Regions from separate parts of the Homo sapiens genome. Here region 2 is linked to region 1. The links are contacts of gene promoters, found by promoter capture Hi-C in blood cells and fetal thymus (Javierre and others, 2016). All regions are on one chromosome and are shown on one strand. Each heading gives the region's core, a stretch centred on a gene start or on the middle of the fragment in contact. The rest is flanking DNA. Distances are from core to core; before and after follow the strand shown.

Evidence for each region. The method cuts DNA at HindIII sites, captures the fragments that hold promoters and counts their contacts. A CHiCAGO score of 5 or more calls a contact.
Region 2: a fragment that was not itself captured here is called in contact with the fragment with the promoter of GALR3 in region 1 in 3 of 17 cell types (megakaryocytes, naive CD4 T cells and naive CD8 T cells); the score reaches 5.6 in megakaryocytes.

Annotation. Positions count from the first base shown.
Region 1 is chr22:37,822,081-37,824,780 of GRCh38, forward strand. GALR3 (galanin receptor 3) reads left to right here and starts at 1,302. Exons shown (of 2, transcript NM_003614.2): 1 at 1,302-1,685; 2 at 2,643-2,700. The coding sequence starts at 1,327. The HindIII fragment of the contact is 26,563 bases long and covers 1-2,700 here.
Region 2 is chr22:37,859,410-37,862,297 of GRCh38, forward strand. The region is part of intron 5 of EIF3L (eukaryotic translation initiation factor 3 subunit L); the gene reads left to right. Among named protein-coding and RNA genes, the nearest start is that of EIF3L, 11 kb to the left of the region's middle. The HindIII fragment of the contact is 1,721 bases long and covers 745-2,465 here.

The sequences.
Region 1 (2,700 bases), core at 52-2,551:
GAGGTGGGAGTGCCAGAGACTGGCTGGGCCCTGGGCACAGAGGGGTTAACTACAAAGCAAATCACAGAGAGCGAGATCAATGGGTTACTGGCTGCAGAGAGAGGAAAAGGCAGCAGCAACGCAGAGAGGCAGAGAAGAGCCAGGCAGAAGAGCCTGCCACCTGGGGGAAATCAGGGACTGAGGAGGAAGTGGCCAGTGGCTACTCCAGAGGGAGTGCCCAACTCCGGCTCAGCAGAGGGGGCAGAGGAGAGGAGGGGCCTTAAAGGCAAAGGGGGAGAAGTAGAAGGCAGACCAGTACCTGCAGGGAGGCACCAAGGGGCAGCCGCTGAATCAGGAGGCCCACCCAGCCCGGCCATTCCACCCAGGATCAAGCCCACTGCCCAAGGCGGAGGTGGGTGTTGCCCATCCTGGGCTTTGGGGACCTACTGCATGCTGGGTGCTGGGATGGGGGCAGACATTGCCTTTCTTCCCTACTCCCTGCCTGACCCCCCTTTCCCCTACTTTGTCCCACCACCCCAGTGGTCTCAAGCCTGCAAGGAGATCCACAGGCAGTAGGAGACATGGGCTGTAGAGTGGGATGGGGGTGAGCATGGGTGCGGTGTGCACACACACAAGTTGTCAGAGGCACCACCTGTTACAAGCTCTCAGATGAGCACTCTAGCTTAAGAGGCAGGATACCAGGGTGGCAACAGCCCCAGAGCTGCCATTTCGAGTGTGATATTATCCTCCCATGTCCCCTCTCTGGGCCTCAATTTCCCTATGTGCAGAGAGGAAGCAGTGACCTACACGGTCTTCCCAGTTTTGCCATTGTGATGATCTCACTATACTGGACCCTCCAATGACTCAGGGATGTTACCCGTGTTTTGCTAAGGCTACAGCTTGTAGCCAGAGAAAGCCCTAAACCCATGTCCCAGGGTCTCCCCTGAGCTTCAGATCCCCATTGAGAAGGAAAACATACCAGTTTCTGGGTTTGGCCCCTCCCCCCATCGCCATATCTTCATCCTACTTCGCTTGTGCCTTCCCCAGCCTCGTGGGTTGAAAGTGTCCCTCAAATACCTAGGTAGTCCTCCAGGCAGGACTCCAGGGGTGTTCCTTAGGAAACTGAGGAACTCTCACCCCTTGAACACCACGAGCTTGCTCACACAGTGACACTCAGCGATGACTTTGGCTCTGCTCTCCCCTCCTCCATCTCCCACGAGCTTCCAGCCCAGAACACCTGGCCAGACCCAGGTCGGGGGAGTTAGATCCCGGGGTCAAGCAACCAGAACTGGGGGCTCTTGCCTGAGGATTCCAGCTTCTCTTCCCAGGTGCCCGTCTGATGGGGAGATGGCTGATGCCCAGAACATTTCACTGGACAGCCCAGGGAGTGTGGGGGCCGTGGCAGTGCCTGTGGTCTTTGCCCTAATCTTCCTGCTGGGCACAGTGGGCAATGGGCTGGTGCTGGCAGTGCTCCTGCAGCCTGGCCCGAGTGCCTGGCAGGAGCCTGGCAGCACCACGGACCTGTTCATCCTCAACCTGGCGGTGGCTGACCTCTGCTTCATCCTGTGCTGCGTGCCCTTCCAGGCCACCATCTACACGCTGGATGCCTGGCTCTTTGGGGCCCTCGTCTGCAAGGCCGTGCACCTGCTCATCTACCTCACCATGTACGCCAGCAGCTTTACGCTGGCTGCTGTCTCCGTGGACAGGTGCGCTGTGCCTGGGGCCTGGCTGGGCAGGGCTGTGGGGGCGGGGGTTGGGGGAGGAGTCCTGAACAGATCCTCACTGGCCTTAGGAAGGAGAGAGTGGGGGACCAGAAAGGGAGGTGGGTGGGAGGAAACAAAAGCTCCCTGACCCCTCGCAAGCAGCCTCTGGGCACCTGCAGGGCGTGCTTGAGGGGACTGTCCTGCCCTTCCCCTCCTCCACTGTGAACTTCCAGAGGACGCCTCTGAGTCTCAAGTGGCAGCACAGGGTCTGGCACATAGTAAGTGCTCTGTAAGCGCGAAATGAATCGCAAAAGAAGCTCACGAATGCGTTCATCAGTTTTTTTGTTTTGTTTTGTTTTGTTGTTTTTTTTTTTTGGATCTTGGCTCACTGCAACCTCTGCCTCCTGGGTTCCAGCGATTCTCCTGCCACAGCCTCCTGAGTAGCTGGGATTACAGGCCACCACACCTGGCTAATTTTTTGTATTTTTAGTAGAAACGGGGTTTTGCCATGTTGGACAGGCTGGTCTCGAACCCCTGACCTCAAGTGATCCGCCCGCCTCGGCCTCCCAAGTGCTGGGATTACAGGCGTGAGCCACCGCGCCCAGCCCAGCTATTTTCTAACTGCCCACACCTGGCCAAGCTGTGCACACATCTGCTTCCACAGCTTGAAACTTGGGGTCAAATCCAGGCTCACTCCAGCTGATGACCCTGGGCAAGTCACTTCTCTCTGGACCTCATCTGACGCATCCATAAAATAATCCTAGAAATAACAAGTCACCGGGATCGGGCCCTTGCTAGGTGCAAGGGCCTAAGCACCTTGCGCGTTCACACCCTTAATCCCCGCCACGTCCCCCACGGTTCACAGGAGGCGCACTGGGCCGCAGGGCCCGGGCGCGGGACGTGGCGCGGGCCCCTGCGGGAGGGCACCTGCCCGCCCCGCTGACCAGGCGCCCTCCGCAGGTACCTGGCCGTGCGGCACCCGCTGCGCTCGCGCGCCCTGCGCACGCCGCGTAACGCC
Region 2 (2,888 bases), core at 355-2,854, 38 kb after region 1:
CTCGCTCTGTCGCCCAGGCTGGAGTACAGTGGCGCGATCTCAGCTCACTGCAGGCTCCACCTCCCAGGTTCACGCCATTCTCCTGCCTCAGCCTCCTGAGTAGCTGGGATTGCAGGTGCCTGCCACCACACCTGGCTAATTTTTTTGTATTTTTAGTAGAGACGGGGTTTCACTGTGTTAGCCAGGATGGTCTCCATCTCCTGACCTCGTGTTCCGCCCGCCTTGGCCTCCCAAAGTGCTGGGATGACAGGCGTGAGCCACCACGCCCGGCCTAGAGTGCCTAAAGTTTCTTAAAATGCCATCTGTACTATTTAAGGCTGGGCGCGGTGGCTCACGCCTATAATCCCAGCACTTTGGGAGGCTAAGGGCAGGTCACCTGAGGTCAGGAATTTGAGACCAGCCTGGCCAACATGGAGAAACCTCGTCTCTATTAAAAATATGAAACTACAAAAATAAGCTGGGCGTGGTGGCGGGTGCCTGTAATCCCAGCTACTTGGAAGGCTGAGGCAGGAGAATCGCTTGAACCCGGGAAGCGGAGGTTGCAGTGAGCCGAGATCGTACCACTGCACTCCAGCCTGGGTGACAGAGTGAGACTCTTGTCTCAAAAAGAAAAGAAAAATGCCATCTGTATTATTTATATACACCAATGACTTAATCTCTATCTTTAGCCTCAGTTGCCCCACTGAAGTCCAGACTTGTATATTCAGCTGTCAGCATCTGCACTTGGCTGTCTGAGTCATCTGAAGCTTAACACATCTAAAACTGAATTCTTATTTTCCCTCTAAACTAGTTTTTCTCATGGTAATCATCTCAATAAATGCTACCGTTTATTACCAAGTTAATTGGACTAAAAGCCTTGGCATTATTCTTGACTTTTCTCTGACATGATATCCAGCAAATCCTGTTAAGCTCTGTCTTCAACATACTTCTTTTTGTTGTTTTGTTTTATTTTGTTTTGTTTTTGAGACGGAGTCTCGCTCTGTCATCCAGGCTGGAATGCAGTGGCGCCGTCTCGGCTCACTCCAACCTCTGTCTCCTGGGCTCAAGCAATTCTCCAGGCTCAAACGATTCTCCTTCCTCAGCCTCCTGAGTAGCTGGGATTACAGGCATGCACCACCACGCCTGGCTAATTTTTGTATTTTTAGTAGAGACAGGGTTTCGCTATGTTGCCCAGGCTGGTCTCGAACTCCTGACCTCAGGTAATCCGCCCGCCTCGGCTTCCCAAAGTGCTAAGATTACAGGCGTGAGCCACTGTGCCTGGCCTTCAGCATACTTCTTGAATCAGCCACTTTTCACTGCCACACTGCTGCTCACCTAGTTGAAGTCATTATCATCTCTTCCCTGAATTACTGCAGGAGCTGCTTACCTGGTGTCAGTTTCCACTCTTGGCTGTTTATTCTCAACATAATAACCAGCATGATCCTTTTGCTACATAGTTTCATCAGGTCACTTCCAATCCTACCATGACTTCCCATCACACTTACTAATTCCAGGTTTTAGCCCTGTTTCCCTTCTCACTCATTTCCTGAAACTTTCCCCCTCCCTCCCTGGGCTCCTGGCAATATTCGTGGCACTTCAGAGCACTTATCTCTTGTACGTTGTATTTGTTTATTTAGGGGAGGGAGTTTCTTAATCTACTGGAAGGTTAACTCCACCGGGGTATGTGCTTGTCTTGTTCACCAATATAATCCAGTGCCTAGAATAATGTCTGGTCATAATGGTGTTAATTGAGCATGTGTGTGCTTGCATGCATGTGTAAGTGAAGGAAATTGGCACCAAGATCTCCACCTAAGGAGGTCCTAGTTTCTCACAGTTACTCACCCCTCTTCTCCTTGAGGACCGCTTGATATGGCTAGAACTCCTGCCTTGGCCACAGGAGCCACTGTCAGTAGTGGTAGGTGGAAAAGTTCTTGCTGCCAGAGTAAGGGGCCATGTTTTTCCGGCATCCCAGCGGGATCTCTGACTACTTTATCTGATAGAAAGTAAAGATTCCTGGCCAGGCGCTGTGGCTTACGCCTGTAATCCCAGAACTTTGAGAGGCTAAGGCGGGTGGATCACGAGGTCAGGAGTTCGAGACCAGCCTGACCAATATGGTGAAACCCCGTCTCTACTAAAAATACAAAAATTAGCCAGGCGTGGTGGCGTGTGCCTGTAATCCCAGCTACTCGGGAGGCTGAGACGGAAGAATCACTTGACCCCAGGAGGCAGAGGTTGCAGTGAGCTGAGATTGCACCGCTGCACTCCAGCCTAGGCACCAGAGCGAGACTCCGTCTCAAAAAAAAAAAAAAGTAAAGATTCCCTACTACCATTGATGCTAAAGTTCAGGTACTTTGTGGATATGCTAAGAATCTAGCCATTATGTGTACACTGCTTTTTTGGGAACACCATGACACCATAGCCCATAGTATAGCTGGTTTTACCACCTCTAATCTCTCTGTTTGGTCTGTAGATGAAGATTCAGCAGAAGCTTATTGATGCTGTTATCTTTTTATTAGCTACCAGGACTCCTACATAAATGACCAGTTTTAAGCCCTTGGGAAGCAGTTTTTCATTGAATGTGCTTAGATTGTGCTTAATGTATTAAGCACCTTACATAACTTTTATTAAACAGAGACGGGGTCTTGCCATGTTGCCCAGCCTGTTCTCAAACTCCTGGCCTCAGGTGATCAGCCCACTTCAGCCTCCCAGAGTGTTGAGATTACAGGCGTGAGCCACTGCGCCCAGCTATATAATCTTACTTCATTGTGACTAGTCAACAATCTTTTGCCCACATTTTACAGAGATTAAATACCTTGTGAGAACCCCACAGTTAATAAGAGGTGGGACTGACTCCAAAGTTGTGTTTCTTCTCCATCACAAATACATTGCTCATGGTATGGTTCCCCAGC